2 separate regions of the Homo sapiens genome follow, and region 1 is linked to region 2. Evidence: promoter capture Hi-C in human tissues and cell types (Jung and others, 2019). All regions are on one chromosome and are shown on one strand. The core of a region is centred on a gene start or on the middle of the fragment in contact, and the rest is flanking DNA. Distances in the headings are between cores, read along the strand shown. Region 1 has its middle 290 kb from the start of PKN2. Region 2 holds the start of GTF2B (general transcription factor IIB).

Evidence for each region. The method cuts DNA at HindIII sites, captures the fragments that hold promoters and counts their contacts. A contact is called where the count stands out against the background at its distance.
Region 1: a contact is called between a fragment that was not itself captured here and the fragment with the promoter of GTF2B in region 2, in 1 of the 25 tissues and cell types used here (mesenchymal stem cells).

The regions. Positions count from the first base shown.
Region 1 is chr1:88,389,464-88,394,506 of GRCh38, forward strand. No RefSeq gene overlaps it. Among named protein-coding and RNA genes, the nearest start is that of PKN2, 290 kb to the right of the region's middle. The HindIII fragment of the contact is 6,292 bases long and covers 1-5,043 here.
Region 2 is chr1:88,888,024-88,893,709 of GRCh38, forward strand. GTF2B (general transcription factor IIB) reads right to left here and starts at 3,544. Exons shown (of 7, transcript NM_001514.6): 1 at 3,460-3,544. The coding sequence starts at 3,476. RefSeq lists an enhancer at 3,720-3,829. The HindIII fragment of the contact is 18,960 bases long and covers 1-5,686 here.

The sequences.
Region 1 (5,043 bases), core at 1,422-3,921, 500 kb before region 2:
AGAGGACTATTATTCACTTTTATGAGTTTACATATGCATGTCATATCTTATTTAATAGGCTTTATCAATTTAAGACAATCAACAAAACTTGAATCAAAATGCAGACAAGCCAAAAAGTCTAATATACTACCAGAGACATCATCCATGAAAATGGATTGAAAAGGTCAAAAGGAATTTACTGCAGGCTTTCTTTAAGCACTATGTTTGTTGAGAAAAGCAGTCTATGTATTCATGAGAAAGAATAAGAGGTCTAATTTCCAAGTATATAAAACTAACATAATTCAACTATATGGTTTCTGAAAACATACTGAGAAAAACAGGACCTAGACTTATAAAAGGCAAGATACACTGCTCCTAAAATATAAAAGTCATGCTATCAGAATATGTAACGCAATCAGGCACTGTAATCTCCTGTTTACTGCTATAATTTGGGGGGAAAACAATGTTACTAAGATGACATTTATTTTTCAATTACACTCTTCCCACATTTGAGGCTATTTATGTTTCTCTCACTTTAATGTGGCTGTTTAGGGCAGAGAATCTGATATACTGGAAATAAGATGGATCCCAAAGTTGGAAGACTTGAGTTTGATTCCCAAATCTGACACTTGTTATATTCTAAAATTTAGGCAAGTCACTGAGTCTGTTTTCTTCTCTGTTAATGGGGTAGCCATTATACCTGCTTTCCAAGATTTTAAATGAGAAGAGGTCTGAGAAATGAATGTGCAAACTTTAGAATGCTCTACAAATATTATTATTATTGCATATTATTGAATCCCCCAGCATGAAACACGTTACTCTGAATATTAATAGTATTCAACACTTGCTTATTGAGCGCAACACACTCAATTGAAATGGTGAATTAATCTTATACGGTCAGAATTAGGAAGCTTACTCTTCATGAGACACATTTCAGAAGGTGAGAAAACTCAAATTGTGAAGCAAGCTTAGTTTTCCTTAAGATGTACAGTATGTTTAATGGCCTCGAACTGTCCCTCTGGCATCCAAAAGCTTATTACTTCCCTGATTTAACCCAAACCTCTCTTTTATCCTCATTATCTACTTCTCAATAATCTTTTTCCCTAAAATGTGAACTGTCGGCTAGCCAACCGGGTACACTAAGCTTTGTAAATAGGGAAGAAAGGAGTCATGGATCAATGACACCTCCCTTCCTGCAATTTTCTCAACATTTACCTTTGTGTGTTCATCAATTAATTTCTCATAAATCCTGAGGCCCACCCTGATTGATATTAAAAGCCTGCTTTACGAACAACATTTAAAATATATATTCAGTTATTATATTTAATGAATATTGCTGTAGCCTTCTAAGTTTCCATAATTGTTATGAAAATTCAAGGTTCTACCTGGCCAAATTTGGCCAGTATACTACTAGTACACTGACGACCAGTGTAACTTTTATGCTCCGTTTCTTTTTGTCTGTTTTGTTTTTGTTTTTTGAGACAGAGTTTCGCTCTTGTTGCCCAGGCTGGAGTGCAATGGCGCGATCTCGGCCCACTGCAACCCCTGCCTCCCGGGTTCAACTGATTCTCCTGCCTCAGCCTCCCGAGTAGCTTGGATTACAGGCATGCGCCACCACGCCTGGCTAATTTTGTATTTTTAGTAGAGACAGGGTTTCTCTATGTTGGTCAGGCTGGTCTTGAACTCCTTACCTCAGGTGATCTGCCCACCTTGGCCTCCCAAAGTGCTGGGATTATAGGTGTGAACCACCGCGCCCAGCCGCTCTGTTTCTTTTTTAATTATAAGTTTTGATTTTAAGTCATTCCTTTACTGTTATAGCTGAGCATAAGCTGCTAAAAGTAACCATGCCAGTTCTTGAGTGCTTTGCTACTTAGAAACTTCTTCTGCCAGATATTCTTAAGTCATAACTCTATGTTTGGCCTTCCATAAAGCCCCAGGGTATGAACACAGGTCTGCCAAGCTCTTTGCTACTTTACAGCAAGGGTGAGCTTTGCTCCAGTGTACAAATAAATACTCCTCATTTCCATCTGAAGCTCATCAGATTGGCCTTTATTGTCCATACTTCTATCTGCATTTTGGTCATGACAACCAAACTTTCCCTTGTCTTTCTGTCTTCTTCTGAGCCTTCACCAGAATCGCCCTTACTGCTTCATTCACTGTCACTGCAGTAGTCTCTTTCTAGCCTCGTCCTCCAAACTCTTCCAACCTCTGTCCATATCCCAGTTTCAAGGCCTCTTCCACATTTTCAGATATCTGTATAGCAAGAGCCCCATTCCTCGGTACCAATTTTTTGTCTTCGTCCATTTAGTGTTGCTATTAAATAACAGAATACCTAAGGGTGGGTAATTTATAAAGAAAAGAGGATTAATTAGCTTATGGTTCTTCAGGCTGGGAAATTCAAGGGCATGGCTGAGCTTCCAGCCAGGGCTTTCATGCTGAATCATAAGATGGTGGGGAAAATCAAAGGGCAAGCAGACATGTGCAAAGAGGCAAAATCTGAGGGACATCCTGGCTTTGTAACAACTCACTCTGATCAGATCTAATCCATTCCCTTGAGAACTAATTCAGCCTCACCAGAGTGAGAACTCACTGACTACCGTGAGAACAGCACTAAGCCATTCGTGAGGGATTCCATTAGGTCTCACCTCCCAGCAGCACCACACTGGGGATAAAGTTTCAACATAGGTTTTGGTGGAGACAAACTCAAACCACAGATACCCACACATGCACACACAACCACATTTATAACCACCACTGTGAATAATGCTCCTTACAATTTATGCGGTGCACACCCTGCAAAGCCACATATGGTAATCACCTCTTCCTCATAAGTAAATAAGACTTACCTTGCCATTTAAGGCATTTACGATAATTTCAATAAATAGCTATGATCATTATTATTCATATTATCTATAGTAATGCCTAGCCTATATGTCCTTGATACAAAAAGCTTATAACTGATATTGCCATTCCCAGACAATAATATAACATCACTACAATAAAGTTCTACTGTACCATTATTTCGCACTTTGTAAATGAGAAAAGCAAACAACAGGAGCATAAATGGTTTTCTAAGTACTTTTCAATATTTTGGAATCTGGTAAAATTTCTAGTCAGTTAAAAATGTTTGCACTGGCCAATATATGTCTACCAATGCCACCCAAAATTTTTCTTTATTTTTTTGAGACAGAGTTTCCCTCTGTCACCCAGGCTGGAGTGCAGTGGTGTGATCTCAGCTCACTGCAACCTCTGCCTCTCAGGTTCAAGCGTTTCTCCTTCTTCAGCTTCCTGAGTAGCTGGAATTACAGGCACCTGCCAACCACACCCAGCTGATTTTTGTATTTTTAGTAGAGACGGGGTTTCACCATGTTGGCCAGGCTGGTCTTGAACTCCTGATCTCAAGTTATCCTCCCATCTCAGCCACCCAAAGTGCTGGGATTACAACATAAGCCACTGCGCCCGGCCTCATATTTCCTACATTAATGAAAAACCAGCATATGGCTACAGCAAAGTCTACTTGTGGTTCAAATCTGGACTTAGATTTCCAGGAAAAGCAAGCACGAAAGAAATATTGAGGTGTAATAAAATATATTTAAATTACATTAGGTTCTTCTGTTGAACTGAAATTAAAACTTCCTAAAACTGCTGAAAGAAATCATAGATGACACAAACAAATGGAAACACATACCATGCTCATGGATGGGTAGATTCAATATTGTGAAAATGACCATACTGCCAAAAGCAATCTACAGATTAAACACAATCCCCATTAAAATACCACCATCATTCTTCACAAAATTAGAAAAAGCAAATTCACATGACACCAAAAAAGAACCCGCATAGCCAAAGCAAGACTAAGCAAAAAGAACAAATCTGGAGGCATCACACTACCTGATTTCAAACTATACTATAAGGCCATAGTCATAAAAACAGCATTGTATTGGCATAGAAATAGGCACATAGACCAATGGAACAGAATAGAGAACCCAGAAATAAACCCAAATACAGCCAACTGATCTTTGACAAAGCAAACAAAAACATAAAGTAGGGAAAGGACACCCTATTCAACAAATGGTGCTGGGATAATTGGCTAGCCACATGTACAGGAATGAAACTAGATCCTCATCTCTCACCTTATACAAAAATCAACTCAAGATGATTAAAGACTTAAACCTAAGACCTGAAACTATAAAAGTTCTAGAAGATAACATCAGAAAAATCCTAGACGTTGGCTTAGGCAAGGATTTTATGACCAAGAACCCAAAAGCAAATGTAATAAAAACAAAGATAAATGGCTGGGACCTAATTAAGGAGCTTTTGCATGGCAAAAGGAACAGTCAGCAGAGTAAACAGACAACCCACAGAGTGGGAGAAAATCTTCACAATCTATACATCCGACAAAGGACTAATATCCAGAATCTACAATGAACTCAAACAAATCACTAAGAAAAAAACAATCCCATCAAAAAGTAGGCTAAGGACATGAATAAACAATTCTCAAAAGAAGATATACAAATGGCCAATAATCGTACGAAAAAATGCTCAACATCACTAATGATCAGGGAGATGCAAATAAAAACCACAATGCGATACCACCTTACTCCTGCAAGAATGGCCATAATCAAAAAATCAAAAAACAGTAAATGTTGGCATGGATGCGGTGATCAGGAAACACTTCTATACCACTGGTGGGAATGTAAACTAGTACAGCCACTAGGGAAAACAGTGTGGAGATTCCTTAAAGAACTAAAAGTAGAACTACCATTTGATCCAGTAATCCCACTACTGGGTATCTACCCAGAGGAAAAGAAGCCGTTATCTGAAAAAGACACCTGCACACTCATTTTATAGCAGCACAATTCACAACTGCAAAATCGTGGAACCAATCCAAACGCCCAACAATCGACCAGTGGATAAAGAAACTGTGGTGTGTGTGTGTGTGTGTGTGTGTGTGTAGATAGATAGACACATACATATGATGGAATACTACACAGCCATAAAAAGGAATGAATTAACAGCATTTGCAGTGACCTGGATGAGGTTGGAGCCTATTATTCTAAGTGA
Region 2 (5,686 bases), core at 2,294-4,793:
CTTTTTTTGACACATTAATCTTAAATGATCTGACAGAATCAGCTGTAAAAGCAACAAAGATTTGATCATTATTTCAGGGGGTATGACCTCACAATCATAAATTCTTGGTATCACTGCAAATAAGGCCCTTTTAAAAACCATCTGAAATACAATAAATGGTTAGGTTATGGACATCAGATACACGTAAAAGACAAAATCAACTGTTCTTATAGTATGTAAATAGTATTTGTGGTTTGGGGTAAAGTTTCTCATGCTAGCAAATACAATTCAGAATGTTAACTCTCAACTCAGAAGGTGATATCTACGGGAAAACTGATAAAATAATCCATATTCCCCCCTAAACTTATCTAGTCAGCTTAACTAGAATATGTCTTGAATCTTCTCATTGGGAACACGGGGGGATGAGTATTACTTCATATTTGTGTTTATTCCATAAATTCCTCTAAGGAAAGTATTTTAATAAATTATGACAAATAAAATTAAACAGTTGATATAAATTATGAAAAACCATGTTGAAATAAAGGAAAATGTTAGCAGAGTAACAGTAATTACAAATTAGTAAAAGAGGAGGCCATGTGCAACACGTGCTAAGAACTAATATCTCTGCAGTATTAAAAAGTAGATAGAAAACTATAGTTTGTGTAATGATACAGAAACATCTCAAAGATATGAAGAGTGAAGAATAAGGTAGAAAACCTATACAAAGCTGAAAAGTATGAACTAACCATACACCATAACATGGATGAACCTCAAAATACTAACAGAATCTAGACAGCAGAATACATATGCCATTTATGACAACTTTAAAGCAGGCCAAATGAATTGATGGAGTTAGAAATCAGGATGTGGTTTTCTCAAAGGAGGGGGAATGACTGAGGACAGAGACTTTGCTAGTGTCTTAGCTAGTGCTAGTGGTATCTGATTTCCTTACCTGGGTAGGAGCTATATGTATGTGCTCACTTTGTAACTGAGCTGCCCACTTTTAAAATGTGCTAACTTCATTAAAAAAAGGTAAAAGCAAGGTAGTGAATGGAGTTTAAATTAGGTCACTTTCGTGGGGGAAGAGAGGTTAGAACTATTCCTATACATTTGTTAAAGCATAAACACTAGGAAAACACCAAGAGACTAGTAATTATGGCTGATCCAGGGAGACTTAGATGGCTGGGAGCTAGGAAAGGAGGAAGACTACTTTTCATGGTTTTAGTCTATTGCAATTTTGCTTTTGGACCATTTGTATGTGTTACCTATCAAAATAAAAGTATGCTAAATTAGTAAACTTAATCAAATTACCCACAATACAGAAGAGGAACCATACAAATGGGGTGGTGAAGGTGGTAACAGAGAGAAACAATAGGGAGGAATAGAGAAACCACCACCACTGACATTAAAACGATTCGAGACTACTCAAGTACCAGATAATCCCAAACCCCATTTTATAGCTATCATTTATTGGGCATGGACTGTATTACTTGTGTTATACATTTATTATTGTCAATCTCCACAACAATCCTGCAAGAAAGGCACTATTTCACATTTAAAAAATTATGCTCAGAGAATGATTTGCCTGAAGTCATGGAACTAATAAGTGGCGGAGCTTACATTTGAACTCAGAACATTTGTACTCCTCTGTGAGGACACCAGCCAGTTTCATGGCCTAGTGACAATACACCTTCCTGAGGGAAAAACATGCAAAAGGTAGAAATATTATATTTAGGCTGGGCGCAGTGGCTCATGCCTGTTACCACAGCACTTTGGTAGGCCAAAGCCGGAGGACTGCTTGGACCCAGGAGTTCAGGACCAGCCTGGGCAATGTAACTAGGCCTTGTCTCCACAAAAATAAAAATTAATAAAATTTAAAAATAAAAAAATTAGCCAGGCACGTGGTGTGTACCTATGGTCCCAGCTACTCAGAAGGCTGAGGTGGGAGGATCACTTGAACTGGGGAGGTCATGGCTGCAGTGAGCCATGATCGTGCCACCTACACTTCAGCCCAGGCCTGTTCCATAAAATAAAAAATACTGCATTTAACTTTCTTTGTTGTCACTGATAGAAAAACTTGAGCAATAACTGCTATGATACATAAATTGCACATATCTAGAAAAAAATTTCAGACTTAAAAAGCCATGATAGAATTAAAAAAAAAAAAAGCCATGGTAGAATTTTAAGTCGTATTTGAGTGATCTGGGGAGCCCAAGTTTTCCATTTACCTACAAGGAGGCCTTACCCGACAGAACAACACCCAGATAGAATGACTGAGCATCCAATCCAAGAATCAGAATCAGTAAACAAGAGTGTCACTGGCTTTATGAGTTCTGTTCAAACAGTATATTAGCTAAAGCTGCCTCCCACCCCAAATTCCTTTTCTAATCATAAAATGTAAGTCTTGGCAGTTACCAGAAAAGGCTATTTTGTAAAAATGGCTTTCACTGTGAAATTAACCAATTCCACAGATGATAGCAGGGTCAGAAAAATAGTGCCAGAGTTCCAGAAGCTGTAGAATTAATTTGATACTTTCAACACAGGATTAGTTAACCAAAGGCCAGGTGTGGATAACAGGAAACAGGTTGTCTTAGACTCTACACTCTAACACGACTCTTGGAAAAGTCAACATTGGCATGACTCAGTTTACACTTATGCAAAAATACTAATATCTACCTCACAGTGGTAATGAGAGACATAATTAGGGTCTGCAAGCATTTTTCAGGTCACAAGATTAAAGGCTGTTTCTGAGGGTACTGCATGCATTTCCTGTAGATATGAGTACACTGCATTCTTAAATATATACTAAAAAGCGACCTCCCAGCACATATAACTAATTTTCTTTGGCAAGATTTTCTTCAGAAGTACACAGGCAACGATATTTGTAAACAAATCCTTTAGCAGGGAACTAATCAACTCTTCCGATGGCTCTAGCTTCCACTTCCGAGGCCCGCTGTGATGGTAACCAACCAGGTTCCATCTGGCTTACCAATGCTGACGTTCCCAACTTCCTAGCTGTCAGATCGATAGGAACCTGAAACTAACTGTTTCCCGTTCCTTTGAAAAGGAGAAATTACGGACCCTCGGGTTGTTTGGGCCGTAGATGAAAAAAACAAGCGGGGGGGGGGGCGCGGGGGAGGAGAGGAGGGAGGGTGGGAAGAAGAGAAAATAAAGGGAGATTGAAATATTGGGAAAAGATACGAGGGCAAGGACTGGGGACACAGTAGCCCACCAGGACCCACATAGGGTGATATCTACATAAGACTCCAGGGCAATAACGTCAACAGCTCGGTAACCCCTGCGACACCCTGACAGTCCTGCCGTCTGGAAGTGCCTTTGTCCCGGCCCGTCGGCCAGTCCCGCCGCTTCTCTCCCATACCCCTAGGCGCTCAGCCCTACGAGGCTGCCCGGAGGCCGCCTAAAAGCCGGCGGCGCTCGCGCCCGCCCCTCAGCTCGCCGGGCTCGGCGGGACATACTAACCGGCTGGTAGACGCCATCTTCACGGCGACTGCGGTGCCCGCAACAAGACACAACAGACACACCGAAAGCAGGAAGCGAATGTGGCGAAGAGACGCGCAGAGATGAGTTTTTATAGACGACTCACCCACGCAGTCGTAGCAGAGCAGGGCTACGGGTCGGGAGAAGGGCCAAGAACAGTGAGATCCCATACGTCACGTGCTTTGCGATTTCTTACGTTCTTACTCCGTTTCTGTAATTTGCTATGTTGCTAAGCGAGTCAACGTAACTACCTAGGAAAAGTCTCATGGGAACCCTGCAAAGGGGCTACAACAGAGCTACTCTCAATCTGACAGTTAAAACACAAAGAAAACCCTGGCTTCGTAGTGGTGCCAAAGCCTGCATCCCTAATAGTTTAACCACCCCTTCCTCTCCCACCTTCTCACGGCTACCTTCTCACGGCCACCACCTACCCCGCCCCCAGCCCCCCACCCCGCGTCAGGCACTCCCATTTGAGCCAGTTCTTACGTGCCCCAAGGGTGATTCTTTCTAAGAAATTTGAAATAAAAGGAGAAACTCACTTAGGTCATCCAGAACAGGTGTCTGTTCAGGATCTGTCATCAGCTAGCATGTTGTCTTCTTAGGCACGTCCTTTATACAGGTCATGTAAGTTTATATAGGTTATGGTATCTTGCCTTGCATACCCTTTTAGAATTGGCAGAAGATGAAACAAAACTACGTGAAACCAATGTGTACACAAGAGGCACGACGATATGGGCCATGCTCTGATCATTTTTTTTTCACGGCCTTTGTAACGTTGGCTGATAGCTACATATAGAAAACTTGCGAGAACATCTAGATATTGCAAAATATCCCTAGATTTATTAATTAGCCAAACTAACGTCAAAATTGTAATACCACTATTACTAACAACAATAACAGTTACCGGTGGAGAGTATTCACGTTCTTGGCGTTTTGAACAAAGAACTGGACACAACGCACAAACTAAGGAAAGAATGAAGGAATAAAGGCAGAGATTTATTGAAAACGAAAAGGTAATACCAGCTCAAGACTCCTTTTGCAGAATTTTCGGGGGTTTAAATACCCTCTAGAGGTTTCCCATTGGTTACATGGTGTACACCCTATGTAAATGAAGTAGTGGCTCCACAATCAGTCTGATTGGTTGTGGAAAGCAACCAATCAGAGGCTAAAGTGAAGTTACAAAGTTACACTCCTATGCAAGCGTCTGATTGGTTGCAGAAAGCAACGAATCAGAGATACTTTCAATTTCACATCTGCCACACGGCTAAAGTGTGTGTGTGTGTGTGTGTGTGTGTGTGTGTGGTTGTGTAGTGGGGAGGGGGTTGCAAAGGGAGTAACGTCTGGTTCTTTTGTTACTTAGGTGTGGAAAGTTGGGGTTTTCCTTTTTTTTTTTTTTTTTTGAGACGGAGTCTTGCTCTGTCGCCCAGGCTGGAGTGCAGTGGCGCGATCTGGGCTCACTGCAAGCTCCGCCTGCCAGGTTCACGCCATTCTCCTGCCTCAGCCTCCCGAGTAGCTGGGACTACAGGAGCCTGCCACCACGCCCGGCTAATTTTGTTTTTGTATTTTTAGTAGAGACGGGGTTTCACCCTGTTAGCCAGGATGGTCTTGATCTCCTGACCTCGTCATCCGCCCGCCTTGGCCTCCCAAAGTGCTGGGATTACAGGCGTGAGCCACCGCGCCCGGCCGGGGTTTTCCATTTGATTTAGTTCTAGGAAATCAGTGTGAATCTGCCTTAGGTTCCCTGCCTTCAGACAGTATTCTCCTGCGGCAACACTTTGCTGACAACTATTCTTGAAAATACGGGGATTGGTATTTTCATGGTGGTTTTCATGGGGCTGAGAACTTAGAAGATAATGACTGCTTCCTTCATCTGGGGATGGGATTTAAATGTAATGGAGCACTCACTGTTTTCTTGAGAAGGTGGGAGATACTAGCTTCCTTAGAAAGAAAAAGGGGTGCGAGAGGCAGGATTTTAGGAACTCAAATCTAGGTGGGAACCGGGGAGCATGATTTCTTTTTTCTTTCCCAATCCCAATCTTCTATTTTGTAATTCTGTAATTTTAAAAACTTGACTGTACTCTTGTGGGGGTTTTTTCCTCCCTCAATATTTTTGTCAAGTGCAACCAGGAAAGGGCTTGGGGGTGCTGCACCTCAGTCCAGTAGAGGTTTCATAGTAAAGCATCTTAACTTGGAGGAAGAGGAGGAATAA